Linked DNA regions of Homo sapiens: all the other regions are linked to region 1. Evidence: promoter capture Hi-C in 16 types of primary human blood cells and fetal thymus (Javierre and others, 2016). All regions are on one chromosome and are shown on one strand. Each heading gives the region's core, a stretch centred on a gene start or on the middle of the fragment in contact. The rest is flanking DNA. Distances are from core to core; before and after follow the strand shown. Region 1 holds the start of DAP (death associated protein). Region 2 holds the start of ICE1 (interactor of little elongation complex ELL subunit 1). Region 3 holds the start of RETREG1 (reticulophagy regulator 1).

Region 1 (3,603 bases), core at 475-2,974:
AGATAGAGAAGAAGGCCAATGCTGAGCCTTGCGATACTCAAATGTTTATAAATCTAGAAGAGGGCGAACTGCCAAGCTGACAGAGTGAGCAGCCAGGGTGGCCAGAGAACTGGAGGGTAAGGCAGTGATGTGGCACCTCCGGAGCAAAGGAGGAGGGGGACGGCCAGCTGCATCAAGTGCTGCTAAGAGCTCAAATAGAATGAAAGTAGAAAATGACCATTGGATCTGGCAGCACATAGGTTATAAGTGACTTCCACAAAAGGACCTCCCATGGTTGAGGGCAGTGCAGCAGAACTTGATGAAAACCAGACAAACTGGACTGGAGGGAGTGACAAGAGATGAGGAGCTCAGCCTCCCTGAACAGTTTTGTTGTCAAAGGGAAAAGTACAGCCAAGCGAGGGGTGGTGTTTCCTTCGCTAAAGAGATTAGGCCTGTCTGAATGCGAATCCAGCAAGGCATTGCGGAAGTTAACAGCAGTTGCAAAACACTGGGGCAGGCGGGAAGAACACGATCCAAGGCACGAGAGCCAGGGGTCAGCCACGGCAACAGGAAGATGATGGTGAAAACCAAAAGTTTCTGAGAGTGGTCTCAATTTAGGAAGTTTATTTTGCCAAGGTTAAGGACGTGCATTGACACAACCTCAGGAGGTTCTGATGACATGTGCCCAGGGTGGCCAGGAAACATCTTGGTTTTATACATTTGAGGGAGACATGAGACATCAATCAATACGTAAGATGTAGGTTGGCTCTTTAGGAGGTAAAATGTGAAGTGGAGGCGTCCGGGTCATAGGTACATTTAAAGGTTTTCTGATTGGCAACTGGTTGAGAGTTATCATCTAAAGACCTGGACTCAGTAGAAGGGAATGTCCGGGTTGCATGAAGGAGTTGTGGAGACCAAGGTGTTATCATGCAGATGAAGCCGGGAATACACTGCAAATGTTTCTTATCAGAGTCCTCTATTAGTCTTAGGGTCTCCGTGCGGATGTTTGTGAGGCCATGTTTGACTTCCGCTTCCCATCAAGGCCTGAACTAGTTTTTCAAGATAACTTAGAAGGCCACAGGCGGAGGGGAGGGTCCATCCGTTGGCTGCAGGGCTTAGAATTTTATTTTTGGTTCATAACGAGGAGGGCAGGGACAGAAGCCACCGTCTCTGCTCCCCAGCGCTGGCCCTCACTCGGAAAGCAGGCTCTCCCCTCGCATCGTCTTTTAACAAATTCCTGCTCTCTCGGCCCCCGTCGCTGCCATCTGGGCTCTCCTTTCCGCGCTTCATTAGGCGCTGCCGCGGCAGGGGCTGAGGGCCTCAGGGGACGGTCGCCTCCCTGCCGGGACGCCCCGGCCCTGGCCCGCACTGTGGGGCGCAGTCACCCAGCCGTCGCCGCGTAGCCAGGAGCCCGGCTGAGCGCGTTCGCTGCAGGAGCCATCCTCAGCTGGGCCCTACTTAACTTTCCGCAACTCCAGTCCCCGCAGCCAGTCGGGGACCCCGCCTCCCTCTCCTTCCTTCTCCCTCTCACTTCTTCACCCCTTCTCTCCCCTCCCTCCTCCGCCCCCGCCCCCGCCCCCGCCCCCGCCCCCGGCCACAGCATCCGACGTGGCGCGGCCGGCTGCGCACGCACCGTATGCTTGGCTCGCGGCCCAGCAGGGCGGGCGGGCCGCGGTGACGTCAGTGCGCATGCCGTCGGTGGGCTCGGCTGCGCCACGTCGGCGCGCGGCGGCCGCGCCCCCTTAACGGCAGTGGCACTCACCCGGCTCGCGCGGCCCCGGCGCCCCACGCGCGCGCGTCGTTCTCCCGCCCGCTCGCTCCCCGGCGCTCACACCTGAGCTCACTCGCGCACGCCCGCCCGGCCCGAGAACCGCGCCGCCGCCTCGGCCCCGCGGAAGCCCCGCCGCGTCATGTCTTCGCCTCCCGAAGGGAAACTAGAGACTAAAGCTGGACACCCGCCCGCCGGTACTGACTCTTTTCCTCTCTCTCCACGCGCGGGTGCCGGGGGCGGGCTCGAACCCGGGGGCGCCGGGCGGGGGCTCCGCGGGGAGGGCCCCGGCGAGCGCTGAGACGGGTTCCGGGCCTTGATGCCCGCCCGAGGGGCGCGGGCCGCGGAGAGGTCGGGCGCCCAGGCCCGGGAGGAGCCCGCCGGAGCTTCGGCCCCGCTTGCCGGCGGCGGCGAAGCGTTTCTTCCTGAGGACCGCGGGCGGCCGCGTACCTGTGCGATTGCGCGCAGGCTCCGGTGCCTTGGGCGAACCCAGTTGCACAACTTATAACAAAGTTTTGGCGGATAATATTTACTTAGAGGATACAGATGTCTAGAAAGAAAGTAGCAGAAGCAATGAAAAGTCAGTGGTGTTAATATCATGGTGATGATTAATTAGAGGCTGCCAGCGTTTCATACCGACTCAAGAACCAAGGAGCGGAAATAATTTTTATCATTAATCACTCAATATGACTTTCACCGCCAGTTTCTTCCACATCCAGATTTTTTTTTTCCCCCAAAGTTGCTTTTTCTGATTTTGAGCAAATCCTAAACTTCTGAGCCAAGGAAGTTAAAGCCAGGAAAGAGCGGTCTTTCTTAGAACATAGGGATCTAAGCAGCCTTCATGCTTCTGCCACCTCCTCCTCTCTCTGGGCACAGTTCCTGTTTGCACTTTGGATTCTGTCCAGACGGGTCTGTTTCCGTTTCTACTCTCCTTTCCAGTGGCAGTCGGCCCATATGGAGGGACACTGGTGAGAAGATCAAAGGCCTTGGGTCTCAGAAGCCAAGTCACTTCAATGTATGGATGCGTGAGGTTCTTTTAGGTCTTAATAGCACGCCTTAGTGTCATAAACTCAGTCTTGTAGGAACAGAAGTCTTTGAGAAACATGGCTTCTTTTGGTGGCACATTTGCGCCATTTTCTTGACAATAAAGATTCCTGGCCAGGCGCGGTGGCTCATGCCTGTAACCCCAGCAGTTTGGGAGGCCAAGGAGGGTGGATCACTTGAGGTCAGGAGTTCAAGACTAGCCTGGATAACATGGTGAAACCCCATCTCTACTAAAAGTAGAAAAATTAGCTGGGCATGGTGGCGGGCGCCTGTAATCCCAGCTATTCAGGAGGCCGAGGCAGGAGAATGGCTTGAACCCGGGAGGCAGAAGTTGTAGTGAGCCAAGATTGAGCCAAAGCACTCCAGCCTTGGCGACAAAGCGAGCGAGACTCCATCTCAAAAAAAAAAAAAAAAAAAAAAAAGATTCCCATTATCCTTCTCTGCTGTCCTCCGCTATAGGGCGGGAATTCTCTGCACCAGCACAATGAATAGGAGCCGTTCTTTAAATATGTTGCAGTCCAGAGTAGGCAATATTTTTCAGTGGTGACGGAGGCTCTCTACAACAAAACTAACTGGCACTGGGAAAGAAAAATGTCTAACTGATGCCAGAGAACTTAAGAGGCATGGGGTTTTAGAAAATCATTCCACTGTGATGGAAAATGGTTTTGGGGGAATTTGTGTTGCATTGGTTTTAAGAAAAAAAGTACTTCAAAGGGAGTTTTTTTTTTGATGGGATTTCTTTTAAGGATAACTGACTTCCATTCCACCACAGCGGGTCCCTGTCCACTGTGGGGAGGAGCGCCTTGATTTCC
Region 2 (3,582 bases), core at 1,083-3,582, 5.3 Mb after region 1:
AAAAGCACAGTTCACATCAGTAGTTCTTCTGCACAAAAGCCTCCAATGACTCACCATTTCCATCGCCCAAACCCCAACAATGGTCTACAGGAGCCCACACAATCAGGCCCTCCTCCTACCTTCCTGACTCCCAGCATTCACTCCGCTCCAGCTTCACTGGCCTTCTTGCTCTTCCCAAGCACACCAAGCCAGCTCCTGCTACAGTTCTTCACATCTGATGTTTCCACTGTATGGGAGACTTTTCTTCCAAGATTTCTACAGAGCTTATTATTCTCTCACCTTTGCTCCAATATAAACGTTCCAGGACTCCCTACTTAAATTCCAACAGCCACTGGCCTAGTCCTCACCCATTCATTCCCTCCCCATCTCTGTTCAATTCATCAACAACGTTTTCATTACCCTCTAACATAACTCATTTGTTTCATTTATCCTGCCACCCTCCTAGAACGGAAGCTCCAAGAGATCAAGAATTTTTGTCTTTTTCTCCCCTAATGCCATAATTGCAGTGTCTAAAATACGGCAGGTGATCAATAAATGTTTGTTGAGTGAATTGGCTCGAATAATAAATACAATGTATTAAAGATTCGGGAGAACTCCAATCACGTTCCTGGGGTGGTGGTGGCGGGGGCGGGGGGGCGTTATAAGATACCTACACAATGCAGCTCAGTGAAGGCAATGATCTGTTAGTTCTCCTTCTACTCACAAAAGCAGCACATTTCCTTCCTCCCCTTCCTTCAACACTTAAAATGTTTGCAATCAGTTCACAGATATTGCACTTAAAATGCAAACCAAGTTTCTCGGCATGGCCTACCTAGCCTGCACTCCCGTCTGGTCTCATCAACCATCTTCCGTGTGCACTATGCTCATGCCAACCATACCATGTTCTGCTCATCAAAGACACCCTGCTCCTTCTCACCAAAGGAACCTTTCCACCTGTTAATCCCTCTATCCAGGAAGCTCTTCCCACATCTCTTCTGACAGCCCGATCCTTCCCATTATTCAAATATCTGAAAGTTACTGACTCAAAAATTCCCTACCTGACTACTCTAGCTAAGAGACAAGACCAATATTCCAACATCCTCCTTTATTTTCTAACACCTAAAATCTTCTGAGGCCTTATTCACACATATGCATCTTACTTATGAGAGATCCTATTTTGTTCACCACAATGTCTGTAGTTCCTAGAACACTAGGCAGAGTAGGTAATGAGGTGCTGGTGAGTTCCGTTTTATCACTGAAACCGCGATAGTAGGAAGTTAAAAGAGACCCCCGACATCAGGCAGCTAGGAGAGTCGTGGGAAATGAGGGGCACTATTGCCCAAGTACCACCCCATAAGATCTGGAGCCATACTCTAGCAATTCTCCCTTATGTCACTCTAAAGAAGAGCCCACGCCGCTGTTAGAAACCTCCAGTCTCTGCATGCCTTTCATAAACTACTTTTATCAAACAACTGACAAGCTACTTGACCAATTACTTGGCTTGCTTTTTAAAAAATTAGCCTCGGGATGGCACATCTGCTATAAGCTGAAACGCCTCCCTAGACTCTTCGAGTCTAAGACTCAGACAACCCACATGTCACGTAAGATTCTGCCTCCAAACAACAAATACTCAGGATGGGCCAGAAGACCAAAGCGTTATCCTCAGGGAGATAACTGCCCTCGGCGTTTCACCTGTCCCTCACTGACCTACGGAGTCTGCCCTAGGGAGCTCCGAGGCCGGGTAGGGAAGGTGGGGGGCCCTCCAAACCTCGCTTACTCCACCCCCACCGTTACACCAGCGCATTCCAGTCAATGAACTCTGGGTTTCAAGCTTAAATAAAGCAAAGAAAGCCGTCCCCAAAACTCATGTAGGAAAAAGAGAGCAGAGAGACGAGCGAGCAAGAGCTACGGTTGGGAAGGGAGAGCAGCGCACTGAGGCACAGCCCGCGCGGCCGGACCCCACATCCCTGCGCTCCCGGCCGGCCGAGCCGAGTCCCCCCCCGCGCCCGGGGCCCCGGGAGGTGCTGCACCTGCTGCAGAGAGGCGCAGCCCTGACATCGCGACAGGTCCGCCGCCGTCCCGGGCGCCGCCGAATGGGTCTCGCCCGGCATCATGGTGCCGCCGCCGGGCCCGGTGGGCACGCACGCCTCAGGGGCCCGCGGCGTCGGCCCCGTCCTGTCTCTGCTGATGCCGCCGGGGCCGCCGCCTGCCAGGCCGCTTCCCGCCAGGTCCGGGCGGGTCCATCCGTGCACAGAGGTCCCCGTGGGGCTAGCAAAAGGCTCTCCGAGCCAGAGCTGCCTCAGGCACTAAAAAGAAACGCTACCCGGCGCGGCCCCCGAGCGCGACGCAGTCCAGTCAGGGCCCCGCCCCGCCCTGGCTCGCCCCGCCCCGCCCTGGCTCGCCCCGCCCCTCCCCTGGGCGCGGGGCTGCCTAAGGCGCTGCCTGAGCAACACCGGGAGAGGAGCTGTGCTATGCGGCGGGGGAGACGCCCACAGAGGAGCAGCCAATAGGAGTAGAAGGATCGAAGGTGCATTCCTACCACTGTTAAGGGTCGATCCTTTATTGCCACCTTGCTGTACGACAGGCTTTCCATAGACACCTAAAGGCCTCCGCTATGTGGGCGGTGACCCGCCCGTGACGTAAGCTCCAGACGCCTGAGAAGTGGAAGGACCCGGCGTCCAGGACAGGAAAGTGCGTGATTTACAGCTAGAGGGATAGGCGCTGTCCCGGAGCCCGTCCTGGGCCAGGGAGCAGGAGAGGGAGGGACTACAGTTCCCGACGCGCTGCGGGGCGGGCGGAGATCGTGCGCTTCGGCGCCAGTTGCACGGCCTTAGCAGCCAGTGGCGGCTCCCCTGCTCCTGTAACAGTCCCCTTGTCTTCTGACCTTTCGCTCCTCGGTCATGTGTCCTCGCCGGTCGCCGCGGCAGCCAGTGATGCCCGAGCGGCGGGTTCCCAGGCCCAGGTGTGGGCGCCACCGCCCACCATGCGCCAAGCCCAGAGCCTGGTTGAATCGTTCGCCACCTTGTCTACCCATTTTGGCCATTATCCTGCCACCTCCAAATCCTGTTTTTGACACTTCTCGGGAGAGAGAGAAAACGGAAAGATAAAGGAATAAACTCCTCGTGGTCGTAGTTAGTGGGTAAATTCAGATCTCGTTTGAACCGAGGTTTTTCTTATCTCCAGCCACCGTATCCACCACCACCAGAATCGTCTTTTTAGTCATCACAGCTGGTCGCCGTCAGTACCTTGTTCAGAAGCCTCTCGCAGCTTCCATCGTGTGGTTATACAATCCAAATTCCTTATAAAGTCCAAATTCAAGAGGAGGAATGCACGTTTAGTTAAGTTAATGTCTAGACCTTACCAGCCAATTTCTAGCTCCTCAGTATGGAAATTGCAACTGAAAACACCCCTTCCAAAAAAAGCAGTCTGCATTTTTCTCTGAGTTTTCTTCTCCAAATTTCGCACCCCTGACCTTGCTTACACACTCTGGATACCACCTGCTGTGGAGTGGCGGAAGCAGACATCCAGCGATAGCTAAGTTTCCTGTCGTTGACACCCAAGCAAGACAGGCGTGTACCTAACTGAGGACCTGCCGGTGATAGA
Region 3 (3,818 bases), core at 697-3,196, 5.9 Mb before region 1:
CTTTTTCCTTGACACCCAGGCCACTTTCCATCGGGTTGTCAGGATACTCCTAAGAAGGGGAGTCGGAAATGCCAGATGTTCTGTATCACCTTTAGTTAAAAACCAAGCCTCCTGTTACTAGAGACCATTCAATGTCCACTATTCCCTTTGGTGAGTTACTTAAGGAACTGTGCGTCTCCACCTGCAACCCCATGCCTCCTCTCCTGTTGAATTCCCAACAGCAGTTATTGCCCCTGTCCCCAATCCCCACACTAATGGGGGCCCTACAATTTAGGGCAGAGGCCATTTATTACAAAACGCTCTTGAAACCTGATCCCTCCACTCCTCCCCTAATTTTGGATGCACAGTTTAAGTAAGGAATCTCTTAGCACTTAGCGAAGGCTTCTTCGCTGTGGCAGATATCACAATTGTAACTGGGCCCTCATCAGACTGGGAGCTTCCTGTGGGTGGAAGCTGCATCCACAGAGCTTAGCAATGCTTTGTGTACTCGGTAGGTGCTCAGTAAGCCTTTGCCTGGGCTCTGGGAATATAACTCCTTTGAAGTACAACATACAAGCAGTAAAGTGCAGACACCTGCAGTGAATGTACAGATCAATGGATTCCACGTGTGTATACACAGAGGTTTACAATGGCCACCCAGAGGAGCGTTACAGAACATTCCCCTAGAGACTCCCTTGACGCAGGGAATTTAATTGCCCTCCCTTCCATCCTGTGCAGGCAGGCTGGTTGCCAGTAAAGGGATATGAGATGCCCTGATGCATCCGCAGACAGAACCCTTAGTATGGGGGGGAAGGACCTGTCATTCTAGAGTAAAAGTAAGACCAGGAAGATTAAAGAAGACAAAAATTTAAAAATGCAAATGGTGAAAAGCATAAACAACTATTTTCCTCTCTCCCCACACTCACCCAGAAGCACCGGGGCCAAAGAGAGGGCATGGGAGGTCTCAGGATCCCCTGCCGCCCCACCACTGCCCTGATGCCCGCTTGTGACGCAGAGACCGGAGTGGCTCTGAAATTACTGTCTTCAAAGCAGGCCAAACCTTGCTTGACACGTGCAAAGTTCCAATCTCTTGCTTCTCAGCTCCCCGCACGCGCGGGCCAACGTGCACTTCTGAGCCAGATCACCTAGCCACAAGGAGGGGGAGAGAGGGGGAGATAGGAGGAGAGAGGGGAAGATAGGGGGAGAGACGGGGGAGAGAGAGGGAGAGGCAGAGAGAGAGAGAGAGACAGAGAAGAGAAAGGAAGCACCTGAGACAGAGAGAAAGAAGAGAGAGAAAGGAAGCAGCTTCCCCCAACGCTGCGGCCTTGTGTTTCCTCCCGTGTCAAACGAGAGGGCCCCAAATTGACCCCAAATGTTTTTTCTTCCTTTCTCAATCCAACATTTATACCAGCACGTTATTTCCAGGATGCCCAGGACCTCTGCTATGGTTGTGCTGCTGTCCCTGCAAAGGCGCTGGGGATGGCCGAGGTGGGGGATGTCTCTGGGGGCTGAAATACGCTGCCAGGGGAAGGGGCGCCCCGATACCACCCTCAGTGGCTGCTGGTTGGGCGACCGGTGGCCCTGGCTTGAGAAAGTGAAAATGTCCAATCTATTTTGCCTGGAGCCTTGGGTCTCTTTTGGATACGGAACCGAGCAGCAGTCCTCCACTTCGCCCTCTCCCGCCGCTGCAAGGGAAAAGGTCGTTTTCCTCGAGTCCCGGAGAGGCCCTCCAGGAACCCAGAGCCCCCCGGGGACACCGCCCAGCTCCCGGCGCCCGGCCCCGCCCCTGCGCGAACTCGGCCGCACCCACTTTCCCGGGCGGCTCCCCCTCCGTGGCCTGTGGCGTCACAAGGCCCCCAGCCGCCTGTGCCCCGCGGTGCGCGCCCCGCTCCGGGACCTGCCGCCACCGCCGCCCCGCCCTCGGCGGCACCCACACCCAGGCGCGCCCGCGCGCGCGCCCGGCCCCGTCCCTGTCTGGAAGCACAGCTGAAGATGGCGAGCCCGGCGCCTCCGGAGCACGCCGAGGAGGGATGCCCGGCTCCTGCCGCCGAGGAGCAGGCGCCGCCGTCGCCGCCACCGCCCCAGGCATCCCCCGCAGAGCGGCAGCAGCAGGAGGAGGAAGCGCAGGAAGCTGGGGCGGCGGAGGGCGCGGGGTTGCAGGTGGAGGAGGCCGCGGGCCGGGCGGCGGCCGCGGTAACCTGGCTGCTCGGGGAGCCGGTGCTGTGGCTGGGCTGCCGCGCCGACGAGCTGCTGAGCTGGAAGAGGCCGCTGCGGAGCCTGCTCGGCTTCGTCGCTGCCAACCTGCTGTTCTGGTGAGAGCTTGGGCAAGGTGGGGGCGCTGAGGAGGGCAGGTGACCTTGGGGCGCCCGGGGCCCCGGGGACCCAGTGCAGGGGGAGCCCGCGGGACACTGCGGAGGAAGAATTGTCAGCCCTGCCCCACTTTCTCGGCCACCTGTCTCGAACAGGTAGACACTCACCGCAACTTTCCTCCGGACGCACGTCCCTGTGAGCAGTTGTCGTTCTCCGTGTGCGGATCCAGCCTCAGATGCGAGGTGGTCGGCCGACCCTCAGGCACCTGCACCTACAGGTGTTCCCATCGTGCTTGAAAACTTCGCCCCTGCTTTCTAAAACTCTGAGGTCTTGACCTGCTCGCCCAAGCTTGCCGGAGCAAACGTGCTTGAACGTGTCTTGGTTCTTGCAGCCCCAGCAGGCATATCTGGACCAGATTAGGTACCCGTTCAAAACGGTGCCGCATTCATCAGTCACCTGAGATGGGCCCTGAATGATTTGTTTTTTCCTTCCCCTGGAGCGTTAGGTTTACTGTGTTTACTCCCTGATGAGAAAACGGGAGGCAAACAAGCAGGTGGAGTATGCCCAGCACCCACCCCCGGGTGTGCACAGTGTGGAAAACAGGCATATTTTTAGGTGAAGTACAGGGAGAACACACGGGAATGCTCAGCCCCTGAGCAACAGGTTTGTCTCTCCAAAAAGCGCTCTTCAGAAAGGCCAGGGAAATGTCTGTCTCCTTCGTTGAAAGTGGTGTCCTGTCATCCGTTACCACGCTATTGAGGGCGGAGAAAAACCTTCTTTGTTTGCTAAGTGTCCTCATAACAAACATGACCTACACAGTGCAGAATAATCAGACTCCGGTAACAGATACCTTGTTACAGGACAGAGATTTCTGAACCTTAAAGTTGAGAAATAAATAAATTGCACAAAATAGACAGCCTGTCATTTTCTAGGTTAACTTGAGCAAGATGAATATTTTCCTCAGATCTCTGCTAGTCCTGGTGTTTTCTCTTAAAACTAGCTGTATCTTGTCGGAGGTCCCTGAAAGTGAATTAACTTTGGATCTCTTAGGTATCTGTGTTTGGAATAGAGTTTATTCCAAATCTATCTTATTATGGAGTGAATGCGAGCACTCAAATAAGAAGGACATATTGTCTTATGCTAGATTGGGCAATAGTCTAATAGTCTTAGGGCTGTGTCTCACTAATGTTTACGATGTTTTTAACATTTTATTTCTTTTTCTTTTCTTTCTTTCTTTCTTTTTTTTTTTTTTTTGAGATGGAGTCTCACTCTGTCGCCCAGGCTGGAGTGCAGTGGCGCGATCTCGGCTCGCTGCAAGCTCTGCCTCCCGGGTTCACGCCATTCTCCTGCCTCAGCCTCCCGAGTAGCTGGGACTACAGGCGCCCGCCACCACGCCTGGCCAGTTTTTTGTATTTTTTTTAGTAGAGACGGGGTTTCACCGTGTTAGCCAGGATGGTCTCGATCTCCTGACCTCGTGATCCGTCCGCCTCGGCCTCCCAAAGTGCTGGGATTACAAGCGTGAGCTACTG

What was found. The method cuts DNA at HindIII sites, captures the fragments that hold promoters and counts their contacts. A CHiCAGO score of 5 or more calls a contact.
Region 2: the fragment with the promoter of ICE1 here is called in contact with the fragment with the promoter of DAP in region 1 in 8 of 17 cell types (naive CD8 T cells, total CD8 T cells, fetal thymus and 5 more); the score reaches 18.3 in naive CD8 T cells.
Region 3: the fragment with the promoter of RETREG1 here is called in contact with the fragment with the promoter of DAP in region 1 in 1 of 17 cell types (non-activated CD4 T cells); the score reaches 6.1 in non-activated CD4 T cells.

The regions. Positions count from the first base shown.
Region 1 is chr5:10,759,355-10,762,957 of GRCh38, reverse strand. DAP (death associated protein) reads left to right here and starts at 1,724. Exons shown (of 4, transcript NM_004394.3): 1 at 1,724-1,944. The coding sequence starts at 1,890. It overlaps DAP-DT (DAP divergent transcript), which reads right to left and starts at 1,922. Exons shown (of 3, transcript NR_187555.1): 1 at 1,742-1,922. RefSeq lists silencers at 1,189-1,658, 1,739-2,168 and an enhancer at 821-1,666. The HindIII fragment of the contact is 9,246 bases long and covers 1-3,603 here.
Region 2 is chr5:5,421,427-5,425,008 of GRCh38, reverse strand. It overlaps ICE1 (interactor of little elongation complex ELL subunit 1), which reads right to left and starts at 2,332. Exons shown (of 19, transcript NM_015325.3): 1 at 2,010-2,332. The coding sequence starts at 2,093. LOC101929200 (a long non-coding RNA gene) reads left to right here and starts at 2,880. Exons shown (of 6, transcript XR_001742583.3): 1 at 2,880-3,582. RefSeq lists silencers at 1,900-2,039, 2,100-2,429 and enhancers at 2,460-2,709, 2,575-3,085, 3,086-3,582. The HindIII fragment of the contact is 2,607 bases long and covers 1,813-3,582 here.
Region 3 is chr5:16,615,125-16,618,942 of GRCh38, reverse strand. RETREG1 (reticulophagy regulator 1) reads left to right here and starts at 1,946. Exons shown (of 9, transcript NM_001034850.3): 1 at 1,946-2,291. The coding sequence starts at 1,972. It overlaps RETREG1-AS1 (RETREG1 antisense RNA 1), which reads right to left and starts at 3,017. Exons shown (of 4, transcript NR_109946.1): 1 at 2,457-3,017. RefSeq lists a silencer at 1,703-2,192. The HindIII fragment of the contact is 3,701 bases long and covers 1-2,639 here.